Regions from separate parts of the Homo sapiens genome. Here all the other regions are linked to region 1. The links are contacts of gene promoters, found by promoter capture Hi-C in human tissues and cell types (Jung and others, 2019). All regions are on one chromosome and are shown on one strand. Each heading gives the region's core, a stretch centred on a gene start or on the middle of the fragment in contact. The rest is flanking DNA. Distances are from core to core; before and after follow the strand shown. Region 1 holds the start of CHMP6 (charged multivesicular body protein 6). Region 2 holds the start of GAA (alpha glucosidase). Region 3 holds the start of RNF213 (ring finger protein 213). Region 4 has its middle 7.6 kb from the start of ACTG1. Region 5 overlaps RNF213 (ring finger protein 213).

The links. The method cuts DNA at HindIII sites, captures the fragments that hold promoters and counts their contacts. A contact is called where the count stands out against the background at its distance.
Region 2: a contact is called between the fragment with the promoter of GAA here and the fragment with the promoter of CHMP6 in region 1, in 1 of the 25 tissues and cell types used here (lymphoblastoid cells).
Region 3: the fragment with the promoter of RNF213 here is called in contact with the fragment with the promoter of CHMP6 in region 1 in 1 of the 25 tissues and cell types used here (heart left ventricle).
Region 4: a contact is called between a fragment that was not itself captured here and the fragment with the promoter of CHMP6 in region 1, in 1 of the 25 tissues and cell types used here (dorsolateral prefrontal cortex).
Region 5: a contact is called between a fragment that was not itself captured here and the fragment with the promoter of CHMP6 in region 1, in 1 of the 25 tissues and cell types used here (lymphoblastoid cells).

What each region holds. Positions count from the first base shown.
Region 1 is chr17:80,990,554-80,993,253 of GRCh38, forward strand. CHMP6 (charged multivesicular body protein 6) reads left to right here and starts at 1,288. Exons shown (of 8, transcript NM_024591.5): 1 at 1,288-1,428. The coding sequence starts at 1,366. RefSeq lists silencers at 1,181-1,510, 1,641-1,790, 1,801-1,990. The HindIII fragment of the contact is 10,930 bases long and covers 673-2,700 here.
Region 2 is chr17:80,100,131-80,102,830 of GRCh38, forward strand. GAA (alpha glucosidase) reads left to right here and starts at 1,451. Exons shown (of 20, transcript NM_000152.5): 1 at 1,451-1,760. It overlaps CCDC40 (coiled-coil domain 40 molecular ruler complex subunit), which reads left to right. Exons shown (of 20, transcript NM_017950.4): 20 at 1-483. RefSeq lists a silencer at 998-1,617 and an enhancer at 1,948-2,057. The HindIII fragment of the contact is 18,678 bases long and covers 1-2,700 here.
Region 3 is chr17:80,259,415-80,262,114 of GRCh38, forward strand. RNF213 (ring finger protein 213) reads left to right here and starts at 1,438. Exons shown (of 68, transcript NM_001256071.3): 1 at 1,438-1,488. RefSeq lists silencers at 817-1,166, 1,446-1,795, 2,176-2,315. The HindIII fragment of the contact is 8,363 bases long and covers 1-2,700 here.
Region 4 is chr17:81,503,816-81,506,515 of GRCh38, forward strand. No RefSeq gene overlaps it. Among named protein-coding and RNA genes, the nearest start is that of ACTG1, 7.6 kb to the right of the region's middle. The HindIII fragment of the contact is 9,311 bases long and covers 1-2,700 here.
Region 5 is chr17:80,370,444-80,373,143 of GRCh38, forward strand. It overlaps RNF213 (ring finger protein 213), which reads left to right. Exons shown (of 68, transcript NM_001256071.3): 47 at 1,431-1,542; 48 at 2,078-2,291; 49 at 2,532-2,700. All of the region lies in intron 1 of RNF213-AS1 (RNF213 antisense RNA 1), which reads right to left. Among named protein-coding and RNA genes, the nearest start is that of ENDOV, 43 kb to the right of the region's middle. RefSeq lists an enhancer at 1,325-2,524. The HindIII fragment of the contact is 5,086 bases long and covers 1-2,700 here.

The sequences.
Region 1 (2,700 bases), core at 38-2,537:
CAAGTCTTTTTTTTTTTTTTCCTCAACGTCCCCATGGACACCAAGGAAAAAAGTACTTCAGATGTCTTGGTGAGACAAATCAGAGGGTGGGAGATGAACCCCACAAAAATTCAGGGGCCCCCTCACCTCAGTGAAGGTTCTGGAGTCCAGAGGTTTGGAACAGGTGATAATTATTCTCCTTTTGATGTTATTTGTTATATTTTTTGTAGAGACGGGGGTCTTGCTATGTTGCCAGGCTGGTCTTGAACTCCTGGCCTCAAGCCATCCTCAGCTGAGTGCTTTTCTTTGACACTTAGTGAATGCTCAGGAACCACAGTCAGGATACTCAGGCGGGAACCGGGGTGGCTTCTCCCTTTTACCCTTTATCCCCATTCATGTGTTTCTTAGCCCCCCAGGGAAGAATGCTTCTGTGGGGGACGCAGCCACGATTCCTTGGAAGGAGAAGCTGAGCCCAGCCATGCTGGTCTCCTCCTGGCACTGATCTACAGACAGGGAGCAGCGCAGTGGAAGAGGGAAGATCCCAGGGCTGAAAGGCTGGGTGGAGGGCGCTGCTGGTCGCATTTCAGGGAACATTTTAAAGTGCAAAGCGGGCCGGGTGCGGCGGCTCACGCCTGTCATCCCAGCACTTTGGGAGCCCGAGGTGGGTGGATCAGAAGGTCAGGAGCTCAAGGCCAGCCTGGCCAATATGGTGAAACCCCGTCTCTACTAACAAACATTAGCCGGGTGTGGCAGCAGGCACCTGTAGTCCCAGCTACTCAGGAGGCTGAAGCAGGAAAATCACTTGAACCCGGGAGGCAGAGTTTGTAGTGAGCCGAGATAGCGCCCCTGCACTCCACCCTGGGCGACAGAGCAGGACTCCATCTAAAAAAAAAAAAAAAAAAAAAAGTGCAAAACGTTGGATATCACATCATTAATGCGGCATTTTGTGTTCAGAGCCAGTGGGACAGTGATTCCTGCACAAGATTCCTGAAAGCCTGGGGAGACTGAATTATGTTAATCTAAAAGGATCCCACCTAATTAGGAGATAAGAAATTTTTGCCTTCACCTGCACAGGAAGGGTGCACGGAAACACGTCATTTAGAACATCCCGGGCCCGAACATCGCGGGCCCTAACATCCAGGTATCCGTGCCACTTCTCCGTACCGGTCCAAGGAGGCCGCGGTGTTCGCGGCGGTCGCCGAGACCGGCGGGCTGTGGTTTCGAACCCGCGGCAACGGCGCGCGGCCGGAGGCGGCGCTCGGCCTTCGCGTTCCGCGGCGCCTGGCCCGGCGCGGCCGCCGTAGCGGGAGGACCCGAGCTACGGTGGCCGCGGGGCGGCGGTGGCGATTGGACTTGGTGGGTCCCGGGCCAGGGGCGGGCGCCGCCATGGGTAACCTGTTCGGCCGCAAGAAGCAGAGCCGCGTCACGGAGCAGGACAAGGCCATCCTGGTGAGGGCCCGGGCCCGGGGTCAGGGCTGGGGCCGGGACAGGCGACGGGGCCGGGGCGGGCGGCGGGGCCGGAAGAGCCCCGCGCCCTCGGCCCCCCGCGTTCGGATGGGGAAACTGAGGCGCAGCGCGCAGCCGGGCCCCTCGGTCTCTCCGCCCTGCGTCCCTCCTCGCCCGCGGGGCCTCGGGCCGGGGTCTCCTGCGCGGCGCCGTGGCTGCCGTCTTCCCCGGGGCCCGCGCGTCCGCCTCTGCGAGCCCCGCCGGGGTGGGCGCGGCTGGTGACTGCGGGATTCGACGCCGGCGTTCGGGGCTCGGCCACAGCCTGGCGGCCCGTCCGTGGGGTCCGCGCGGCGCTGGGCTTTCCCTGGCTCTGGGCCCGCGGGAGCAGGTCCCGGCTCTCCCGGAGTCGCTGCCCCCGCCCCCGTCCCGCGGCTCATTTGCCTCCTGGTGCCCTGGGCCGGAGCCCCGGCGGTGCTGCCGGCTTCGCGAGGCAGCGCGGGGCATCCCCTCTCCCTCACCCCATCCAGGCCAGGACTGGAAGGAAGTCTGCCCTGGTCCGAGGAGCGGCCGACAGGTGCGCCGAACGCCTGCCGGGGTCCTGCCGGGGTCCTGCCGGGCTTCCGCAGCGCCTGGGTACGGGACCACCGTGTTTGGCGCGTTTGTTTGCGGCGACTCCAGACTGACCCCCCGGGGCACAGCCGGGCCGGTGGTGGTGCCTTTTCCCATGTGAAAGTTAGCTTCTGTAGGAGGAGGAATCGCCTGGCATGTCAGGGACAGGGCGGGTTAAGAATAGTCCATTTTTGTAACGAGATAAACGTGTCACGAAAGAGACCCCGAAATGAAAGCAGGGCTAGCTTTTTCGGATGCTTTCTTTTCTAAATTTTGTGCAACAGAAATAGGTTAATTTTATACTAAAAGAGAAGCGAATGTAAATGAAAGAGGGAATCTTACGTTGGCATCTGAGTCCATAAGCTGTGAAAAGAAACAACGGGCACATTTGTCCCTAGAGAAGATGGGCACAGCGCTGGGCACCGTCCCGAGCTGCCTGCAAGACAGCTGGACCCAGCCTCCATCGTCCACCTTCCACCTACCCTGCCAGCCCCAAGGCACTCCCTCCCCTCTCTTTAAGGACTCAGCTCCGGTTTCTCTTCAAGCACAGCTTTCCACTTGCCAAGGGTCACTGTGGGCTCTCGGCTGTGCAGACCCGTGTTGCGGGCTGCCGTAGGTCTCCCTGGGATTTTGGGTGCTTGGGAACAGCATCCTTAGCACACACTA
Region 2 (2,700 bases), core at 201-2,700, 890 kb before region 1:
ACAAGCTGGTGGGCTGAGCAGAGGTGGGAAAGTTAAGGCAGCTCCAGCCAGCCTGGCCCGGGAGGCTGGTCCCCCCAGCACTTCCCTCTACTAGGTGCATCTGAAAACCCACAAACCACCTTCTTTACCAGTTTTCCCATCCCCACCCCTTAGAACTCTCAGGTCCCTTTTCCTGCCCCCATGTCCCCATTTGAGTTAAATTCAGATCCACAGCTTGCAGGAGAAAGTCAGTGGCCCCAGACACACGTAACAGGGTGAGCACTGAAATAAGAGCACGCTGGGGCGTCCACACCAAGGGACTACGCCCCAGTCTGCCCACCTATCTTTTCTCCATCATTAACCCAGCGCTCTTTCTCCCTGGACTTCCAAGTACCAATGACCTTGGGGCTTCTTTGCAGTTTAAAGGGAAAATGCTCTACAAAATAATTTCACTTTCAAACATTTCAGCAGAAGAATAAAATCTTTTTTCTGAATATCTAGTAAGCCTTTCTGAGTCAGCCTTACTTATTTTAAAACATTGTAGAAATACAGAAACCACAACAGAGGTGGAAGGGAGGCTTTTGTTTTTTTTTTTTTGAGACGGAGTCTCGCTCTGTCGCCCAGGCTGGAGTGCAGTGGCGCGGTCTCGGCTCGCTGCAAGCTGGAAAGGGGGCTTTTAATGCCCCTATGCCCCTACCCAGGAACAACACCTCTGTGTTTTGGTGTGGCTCCTTTTGTATTTTTCTGCACATACATTTTATTAGGCAAGTTAAGGTTATACTGTGTGTTTTTTGTATCTCACATGTAAAAATGTGCTCCTCTTAATGTAAGCATTTTCTCATTTTATGAAAAAATTCCCCCTGTGTCAGTTTAATGTTTTCTCAATTGTCAGTTTTATGGGTTATCACAATGTTTTGATTATTCCTTTCTGGAATAACTGTGAGTTATGGAGCACACTTAAGGACTTTCCAAATGTTGGCTGTTTCTAACTTGGCGCTGAGCGCCTTTGGCCGCCTTTCCGATGATGCCCTCGGGACGCGTTGGCAGGAGGAATCCCTGGGCGCAAGGCGCGGCTGGGCCAGCCCCTTACAAAGCCCTACGAGCTGCGGGGACCCAGGCCGGGGCAGCGGGGGCCACGCCCCATCTCCGACCCCACGGGGACCGGGCCGGGACTGCGCCAGCGGGGGCCTCGCCCCGTCTCTGACCCCAGAGGAACCGGCAGCGGGCAGCACGCGTGGGCCTCTCCCCGCGGGACGCCGGACGCGCAGCCAGACGCGCTCCCCAGGCCCCCTCCGAGAGCGAGGACGCGCCCAGGCCCGCTCTGCCGGAGCCGCCACTGGGGGGCGTAGCGCGGACGCGCACCCTTGCCTCGGGCGCCTGCGCGGGAGGCCGCGTCACGTGACCCACCGCGGCCCCGCCCCGCGACGAGCTCCCGCCGGTCACGTGACCCGCCTCTGCGCGCCCCCGGGCACGACCCCGGAGTCTCCGCGGGCGGCCAGGGCGCGCGTGCGCGGAGGTGAGCCGGGCCGGGGCTGCGGGGCTTCCCTGAGCGCGGGCCGGGTCGGTGGGGCGGTCGGCTGCCCGCGCGGCCTCTCAGTTGGGAAAGCTGAGGTTGTCGCCGGGGCCGCGGGTGGAGGTCGGGGATGAGGCAGCAGGTAGGACAGTGACCTCGGTGACGCGAAGGACCCCGGCCACCTCTAGGTTCTCCTCGTCCGCCCGTTGTTCAGCGAGGGAGGCTCTGCGCGTGCCGCAGCTGACGGGGAAACTGAGGCACGGAGCGGGTGAGACACCTGACGTCTGCCCCGCGCTGCCGGCGGTAACATCCCAGAAGCGGGTTTGAACGTGCCTAGCCGTGCCCCCAGCCTCTTCCCCTGAGCGGAGCTTGAGCCCCAGACCTCTAGTCCTCCCGGTCTTTATCTGAGTTCAGCTTAGAGATGAACGGGGAGCCGCCCTCCTGTGCTGGGCTTGGGGCTGGAGGCTGCATCTTCCCGTTTCTAGGGTTTCCTTTCCCCTTTTGATCGACGCAGTGCTCAGTCCTGGCCGGGACCCGAGCCACCTCTCCTGCTCCTGCAGGACGCACATGGCTGGGTCTGAATCCCTGGGGTGAGGAGCACCGTGGCCTGAGAGGGGGCCCCTGGGCCAGCTCTGAAATCTGAATGTCTCAATCACAAAGACCCCCTTAGGCCAGGCCAGGGGTGACTGTCTCTGGTCTTTGTCCCTGGTTGCTGGCACATAGCACCCGAAACCCTTGGAAACCGAGTGATGAGAGAGCCTTTTGCTCATGAGGTGACTGATGACCGGGGACACCAGGTGGCTTCAGGATGGAAGCAGATGGCCAGAAAGACCAAGGCCTGATGACGGGTTGGGATGGAAAAGGGGTGAGGGGCTGGAGATTGAGTGAATCACCAGTGGCTTAGTCAACCATGCCTGCACAATGGAACCCCGTAAGAAACCACAGGGATCAGAGGGCTTCCCGCCGGGTTGTGGAACACACCAAGGCACTGGAGGGTGGTGCGAGCAGAGAGCACAGCATCACTGCCCCCACCTCACACCAGGCCCTACGCATCTCTTCCATACGGCTGTCTGAGTTTTATCCTTTGTAATAAACCAGCAACTGTAAGAAACGCACTTTCCTGAGTTCTGTGACCCTGAAGAGGGAGTCCTGGGAACCTCTGAATTTATAACTAGTTGATCGAAAGTACAAGTGACAACCTGGGATTT
Region 3 (2,700 bases), core at 188-2,687, 730 kb before region 1:
CAAGATCACGCCACTGCACTCCAGCCTGGGGTATAGAGTGAGACTGTCTCCAAAAAACAAACAAACAATAAATAAAGTGCCACCCTAAAATTAAAAATTTATCCTCAGGTTTTGTGTGTTTGTTAGTTTTTGAGGCAAGATCTCACTTTGTCATCCAGGCTGGAGTGCAGTGGTATGATCACGACTCACTGCAGCCTGGAGCTCCCTGGGCTCAAACGATCCTCTTGCCTCAGCCTCTTCAGGTGCACCACCACGCCCAGCTAATTTTTTTAAATGATTTTTTTTGTAGAGATGGGGTCTCTCTATGTTGCCCAGGCTGCCATCGAGTTCTTCTAGGGAAACTTGCCGTGGGCACCGTGGGGAGTGGGGTAAGGGCAGGGTCTGTGTCTTGTTCCCATGGCTGTCGTGGGCAGTTGTCGGTTAGGAGGGGTGGCTGTCGAGGATGTTGGACTAATTGTTGGCGACCCCCCGCCCCAAGCAGGAGCATTCAGCTGGGGTTCCGCGCCGGGAATTGTTTCAGGATGAGGGTCCCCTCTGGAATGCGCAGAGGGGCGCAGTGTCCAGAGAGGGACGGGATGAAGGGGTGAGAGGAGAAGGAAGAAAAAGAAAGTGGGTGATTTTAAAACGGAGGTCCCTGGTCACACCATGAGCCTCACAGATGGGAAAACTGAGGCACGGGGGATGGTGCGGACCGCCGTGGCCCCTCCATCATCAGTGACAGAGCGCTCCGCGCGGGGCCGCGGAGGTCCCTTAATCTGCAAAGGCCCCCACGCGGCGCGCTGACGACGTCCACTGCACCCGCCGGGCGCCCTCTGGGCCGCTCCCAGGCTGGCCGCCGGCTCTGCGCGGCCGCAGACACTGTCCGAGGTGCTGGGCGCCGGGGCGGGGGGCGCGCCTGTCCCGCCCCACTCGGCTGCTCGGGCCTGCCCGGGGTCTGGGCTTCCGGGAGACCCGCATGCGCCCCACGCCTGGCGGGAACCGAGGCCCCTCCCGCGTCTGTACCCGGCGCGCAGCGGCCCGAGGCGCCTCCCGGGGGCTGGGGGCCCGGAGTCACTGGGAGGCGCCACCGGCGGGGAATTCCGCACACGCCTGCGCGGGGCCGGCGGCGGCGGCGGGCAGGGCGGGGCCGGCGGCGGCGGCGGCGGGCAGGGCGGGGCCGGCGGCGGCGGCGGCGGGCAGGGCGGGGCCGGCGGCGGCGGCGGCGGGCAGGGCGGGGCCGGCGGCGGCGGCGGCGGGCAGGGCGGGGCCGGCGGCGGCGGCGGCGGGCAGGGCGGGGCCGGCGGCGGCGGCGGCGGGCAGGGCGGGGCCGGCGGCGGCGGCGGCGGGCAGGGCGGGGCCGGCGGCGGCGGCGGCGGGCAGGGCGGGGCCGGCGGCGGCGGCGGCGGGCAGGGCGGGGCCGGCGGCGGCGGCGGCGGGCAGGGCGGGGCCCAGGGCCCCGTGACCCGAGGGGCGACAGCGCGCGGCAGGCGGCGAGCTCGGGGGCCGCAGGTGCGAGCGGGCCTGGAGAGTCTCCCGGGGCGGGGAGCGGGCTAGGATACAGTGGGCCCCGCGGGCCGGCGGGCCGGGTCCCGGGGAGCGGCGCCTGCGTCCGGATGCCCCTCCCGGCCGCCTCTTCCTGCCGGCTCCAAGTTTCGGTTTCGCCGCCGGGGTGCCCGGTCCAGCCCCGCCCGCGGCGCCCACTGACCCTGTTCCCCGGCTGCGGGAGGGGTCGGGGTGGGGGCAGCGGGCACGCCTGGGACCCCGGCGACATCCCCGGAGCGCAGAGCGCGGAGGAGGCTTTGCGCCCCGGCAGTGCTGCCCCCGGGAAGTGGCCGGGGCACGGGGGGTGTAGTGGAAGGGGACAGCCGGACCCGGGCCTGCAGGTCCGCCCGGGAATCCTGCGCCTGTACGAATGGCAACAACGGAAAAGTGAAGTTGCAAAAACAGACTCCTAACTTTTACGAGGGAGGCATCGCCCCGTCTGAACCGCACCGCGCAGCGTCCTTCCGACTTGGCGAAGTCGCCCGAGCGCGGGGCTCAAGGCCAGGGTGGGCACCCCTCCCGGATGGCTGCCTGCAAGCCGGCGGGCCGGGCCCTGGGGGAGTCCAGGGCGGGAGGGGAAGGAGCTGTGCAAACATGGTGGTGGCCCTTCCCTGCCCCCACCTTGTTGACTTTGGTTGTGGTTGGGGGATGGGCTTTGATTTGGGTGGCAGTGTCTGTGCTTGGGAAAAAATGTCAGAGAAAAGACAGGAAGCGGATTGAATGCAACAGTGTTGGGTGCCTGGGGCTCTCTCTTGTGTCTTCCGGCCCCTAGAGCAGATGGAACAATAAGATGCTTTAGGGGGCCGGGCGCAGTGGCTAATGCCTGTAATCCCAAAACTTTGGGAGGCCAAGGCGGGTGGGTCACCTGAGGTCGGGAGTTCGAGACCAGCCTGGCCAACATGAAACCCCGTTTCTACTAAAAACACAAAAAATTAGCCGGGTGTGGTGGCGCATGCCTGTAACTCCACCTACTTGGGAGACTGAGGCGGGAGAATCGCTAGAGCCCGGGAGGCGGAGGTTGCAGTGAGCTGAGATTGCCCACTGTACTCCAGCCTGGGTGAAACTGTCAAACAAACAAAAAATGCTTTTTGGAGGATTTTTCGAGTTTTCTGGTCTGTGGTTCCCCAGTGTAGCATTGGAGAAGGAAACACTTCGGGTGGAAAGAAAGAGGCCTGGGCG
Region 4 (2,700 bases), core at 144-2,643, 510 kb after region 1:
AGAAAGAAAAGAAAGAGAGAAAAAAGGAAAGAAAGAAAAAAGAAAAAGAAAGAAGGGAGGGAGGGAGGGAAAGAAAGAAGGGAAGGAAGGAAGGAAGGGAGAAGAAAGGGAGGGAGAAAGGGAAAGAAAAGAAGAAAAGAAAAGAAAAGGCCAGGTGCAGTGCCTCATGCCTGTAATCCCAGCACTTTGGAAGGCCAAGGTGGGCAGATCACCTGAGGTCAGAAGTTCAAGACCAGCCTGGCCAACCAACATGGTGAAACCCTGGCTCTACAGAAAATACAAAAATTAGTGGGGCATGGTGGTGGGCACCTATAATCCCAGCTACTTGGGAAGCTGAGGCAGGAGAATCGCTTGAACCCAGAAGGTGGAGGTTACAGTGAGCCGAGATCACACCACCGGACTCCAGTCTGGGCAACAAGAGCAAAACTCCATTAAAAAAAAGAAAGAAATAGGCCAGGCGCAGTGGCTCACGCCTGTAATCCCAGCACTCTGGGAGGCCGAGACAGGCAGATCACGAGGTCAGGAGATCAAGACCATCCTGGCTAACACGGTGAAATCCCATCTCTACTAAAAATACAAAAAAAAAATTAGCCAGGCGTGGTGGTGGGCGCCTATAGTCCCAGCTACTCAGGAGGCTGAGGCAGGAGAATTGCTGGAAACTGGAGGCGGAGGCCGCACTCCAGCGGCGAGAGAGTGAGACTCCATCAAAAAAGAAAGGGAGGGAGGGAAGGAGGGAAGGAGAGAAGGAGGGAGGGAGGGAGAGGAGGAGAGGAGAAAAGAGGGAGGGGAGGGGAGTGGAGGGGGAGAATAATTTGTAACCACTAATGAAATAGCAGGTCCTGGCAGGGATTTCCAATGGCTGCTAATATCACAACATCAGGCTCTGTGGGACTCTTTCCCTCTCCATGAAGTTGCACCCACCCTGTGGTCATCTTCTTGCTAAAAAAATCAACCTGAATGAGATTAAACAGACCAGTTTGGACATTTACACCTAGAGCTAACTGACTATAGGAAATATAAGGGTTGAGGAACGTGCCACATCAACCACAAGGACGAAATCAGCAAAATCCAGACAGGTGGAACCCTTTGGAACAAAAGACCTGCCTTCTTCCACAAATAACCTGAAAGGAGAAAAATGAAAGAGGGTAAATCCCGCGGTTAAAAGAGATTTAAGAGACATAGTGGCCAAGTGCAATGATTGGAAACCAACCGTTAAAAGAAATTTAGGTGGGTCGCGGTGGCTCACGCCTGTAATCCCAGCACTTTGGGGGGCCGAGGCGGGTGGATCACGAGGTCAGGAGATCGAGACCATCCTGGCCAACACGGTGAAACCCCGTCTCTACTAAAAATACAAAAAAAATACAAAAAAATACAAAAAAAATACCCCGTCTCTACTAAAAATACACCAGCCGGGCGTGGTGGTGGGCGCCTGTAGTCCCAGCTACTCGGGAGGCTGAGGCAGGAGAATGGCATGAACCCAGGAGGCGGAGCTTGCAGCGAGCCGAGATCACACCACTGCACTCCAGCCCGGGTGACAGAGTGAGACTCCGTCTCAAAAAAAAAAAAGAAAGAAATTTAAGGCTGGGCATGGTGGCTCACACCTGTAATCGCCACATTTTAGGAGGCTGAGGTGAGAGGATCTCTTGAGACCAGGAGCTTGAGACCAGCCTAAGCAACATAGGGAGACCCCATCTCTACAGAAAGTTTAAAAATTATCTGGGCATGGTGGTGCACGCCTGTAGTCCCAGCTACTCAAGCGGCTGAGGTGGGAGGATTGCTTGAGCCTAGGAAGTCGAGGCTGCAGTGAGCTGTGATTGTGCCACTGCACTCTAGCCTGGGCAACAAAGCAAGACCCTGTCCCCCCAAAAAAACAGACAAACAAAACAACAACAAAAAATTTAAGACAACCAAGGAAATTTGGACATTAGATGATACTAAGTATCGATCAATAATTGGTGGGTGGGGGCATGATACTGTGATTTTTTTTTTTTTTTTTTTTTTTTTGAGATAGAGTCTTGCTCTGTCACCCAGGCTGGAGTGCAGTGGCTCAATCTCGGCTCACTGCAACCTCTGCCATGTGGGTTCAAGCAATTCTCCTGCCTCAGCCTCTGGAATAGCTGGGATTACAGGCGCACGCCACCATGCCTGGCTAATTTTTGTATTTTTAGTAGAGATGGGTTTCACCATGTTGGCCAGGCTGGTCTTGAACTCCTGACCTCGTGATCCGCCCGTCTCGGCTTCCCAAAGTGGTGGGATTACAGGAATGAGCCACCGCGCCCAGCTTGTGGTTGTTTTTTCAAAAAGAGTCCTAGGCTGGGTGCAGTGGCTCATGCCTGTAATCCCAGCACTTTGGGAGGCCTAAGCAGGAGGACCATTGAGTCCAGGAGTTCAGCCTGGGCAACATAGTGAGATGCTGTCTCCAAAAAAAACACAAAAGCAAACAAACAAAAGGCCATGGAGGAGGCCAATCCCCAGCTGTGCTGAGCCAGGATCAGATTCTCTCAGCCCCTTTCAGCAGCACCTGTCCTCCTCTGAGTCAATATATTGCTGTTGCAGCCGGGCGCGGTGGCTCATGCCTGTAATCCCAGCACTTTGGGAGGCCGAGGTGGACGGATCACCTGAGGTCAGGAGTTTGAGACCAGACTGACCAACATGGAGAAACCCCATCTCTACCGAAAATACAAAATTAGCTGGGCGCGG
Region 5 (2,700 bases), core at 14-2,513, 620 kb before region 1:
CTTTTTTAAAAAACATGTTGATACTTATGATGATGTTACAAAAAGCGGTGATGAGTTAAACTGCTGGCCCCTCACGTGAAGACACAGTAGCTGGAGGTATTGTTTTCTTCACCGCCATGCACACGTGGTTTTCTTCATGCCAGTTTCATTTTAGTTTTACTAAATCTTGACTCTTGAGGATTTGACTTTTCAACGTTTTGTGGAAATGGGAAGCACACACAAAACACTCCCACTACACACCGGAGTAGACAGTTGCCTCACAGAAAATCACTCATGACAAGCCCTGGGTTATCAGCCGGCTGCTGTGTTCATGGACCGCCACCCGTGCTGGGAGGAAGGATGCACATGATACAGGTGTCCAGGGCTGGGCAGGCCTCTCCTGGAAATCAGCAAAGTGAGCCAGCCTCAGCCAAACAACTGACAATGTTGGTTGGTGATGATAACATTCAAGCTTTTAAGCTGAAATTAAAATTTTGAAAAGCTTATATTCTCCACTATGAGCTTGTGAGCTTTTGAATACTTAAAGACATTTTGGGGCAATTTGTGGTGATATTAATGAATATGGATTTTTTTTTTTAAAACGTAGAATACAAATGTGTCAACCTTTACAAGACCTGCACAGCCCAGTGAACCAATATTTTCCAAATGACCAATGCCTGATGTCATGAAATCATGTGGGTCAAAAAAGAAAAAAATCTATTTAAAGTATGGGCAGACCTTTTTGATTTTAACATAATTGACTGAAAAATGCACTGATACAGTTTCAGGCTCCACATTGCAACTAACCTCTAGACATGACCATTTATCACTGTGGGCACAGCATTAAGGAATAATAGCCACAATCAGCTGCAAAAACTATTAAAATGTTCCTCGCTATTCCGAGTATATGAGGACAGATTTTCTTCATGTTCTCCCATATGCTGCAGCGATGGGGAGCAGGGCAGGCAGGCCGCTGACTTCCAGGAGCCAGGCCCCAGGGCCAGCACAGGAATGGAAGACCAAACCACTCTTCTCACGGATTCATGTTTTGGAAAATATTTTAAATGTTATTTAACATGTAATAGCTTTATTGTTATTTTAAATGAATGTATATTTTTGAAACCTTTTGTTTTTAATGTCTCATAATTCCTAATATCATAAATATTGATAATATAACCCACATAAAAGCTCTTCGGGGTTCTCAATTTTTAAGACTATAAAGGGGTCCTGAAACCAAAGTTTGAGGACAGCTGGTCTAAAATGTGAGTTTTATATTCCTCCAGTATTATGCTAAAAGGTTTTCCATAAAATCTTAGAAACCACGTATATGTATGTATATGTTTATACACACACACACACAGGACAGACGACCGATAGATAGATGCTCTTTTTTTTAGTAAGGTATGTCTCCAGATCTGAGAGAACCAGGAATAATATTTCTCTTTCTGCAGCTTTCATGATGTAAAAGATTATATTCAGGAATATTTGACCCTGTTAAAAAAGAAAGCATTCATAACTGAAGATAAAACTGAACTGTACATGCTCTTCATCAACTGCCTGGAGGTAAGTGAACTCTCTCTTCCCTGAATTTCTTTTGGAAACTATCTGAACCACATGGTTTAAAATTTACAGAATATAATTTTAGTCAGTATAATTAACGAATGCTCTGTTCCGTGCAGAAAAGAAGAAAGGTTTCAAAGACGCGGCTTCTGCCTTCAGCAACGTATATTTTGGCATTTACTTGCATATACATACAAAACAGAACAGCCTAGGAGAATATACTGCCAAAGTTAACAGTGGTTATCATTGAGTGGGGACATTATGGATACTTTTTATCTTCATATTTTTATATCCAAAATTTTTATAATGTAAATAAATTAGATAATTTTTTTTCCTCATAGGTTCACTTTTCCCCTCCTTCTTGTCCTTAAAATAAAAAGGAATGTTAGGTTTCCATAAGTCAAGAAATTTACACTGAAACCTACAGTAACATTCTTCTATCCTTCCTTCTCCACAGTCACATTGGCGACTGTAGAAGCTTGGGGCATCCATGTTTAAAAAAATAATATCCTTTTCTTTCTTGTTCCTTGTTCCTCAGGATTCAATACTTGAGAAGACCAGTGCTTACTCCAGAAATGATGAACTGAACCACCTAGAAGAGGAAGGTCGTTTCCTTAAGGCATATTCTCCAGCAAGCCGGGGCCGAGAGCCTGCCAACGAGGCCTCGGTTGAATACCTGCAAGAGGTGGCCCGGATCCGCCTCTGCCTCGACAGAGCTGCAGATTTCCTCTCGGAGCCTGAGGGAGGCCCAGGCAAGTCTTCTCTGCCTTGCTTTCCTTTGGGTTTAAAGACTCCGTTATTTAGAAATTCAGGAAGTATGGGAAACTAGTTCTTCGAATAGACTACTACTGGGCTTTTCTACATCCCCTCTCCCCTGGATGTGTTTCTGTGAATGCCTGTGGGTAGGTCCGATGCCCTCTGGTTGGCCTTGTGTCCTACAATAAATGCCCTAAGTCACCAGCCACTCACCCGCTTTCTCGTTGGCCTCTCAGAGATGGCCAAGGAGAAGCAGTGCTACCTGCAGCAAGTCAAGCAGTTCTGTATCCGGGTGGAGAACGACTGGCACCGGGTGTACCTGGTGCGGAAGCTCAGCAGCCAGCGGGGGATGGAGTTCGTGCAGGGCCTCTCCAAGCCCGGCCGCCCGCACCAGTGGGTGTTTCC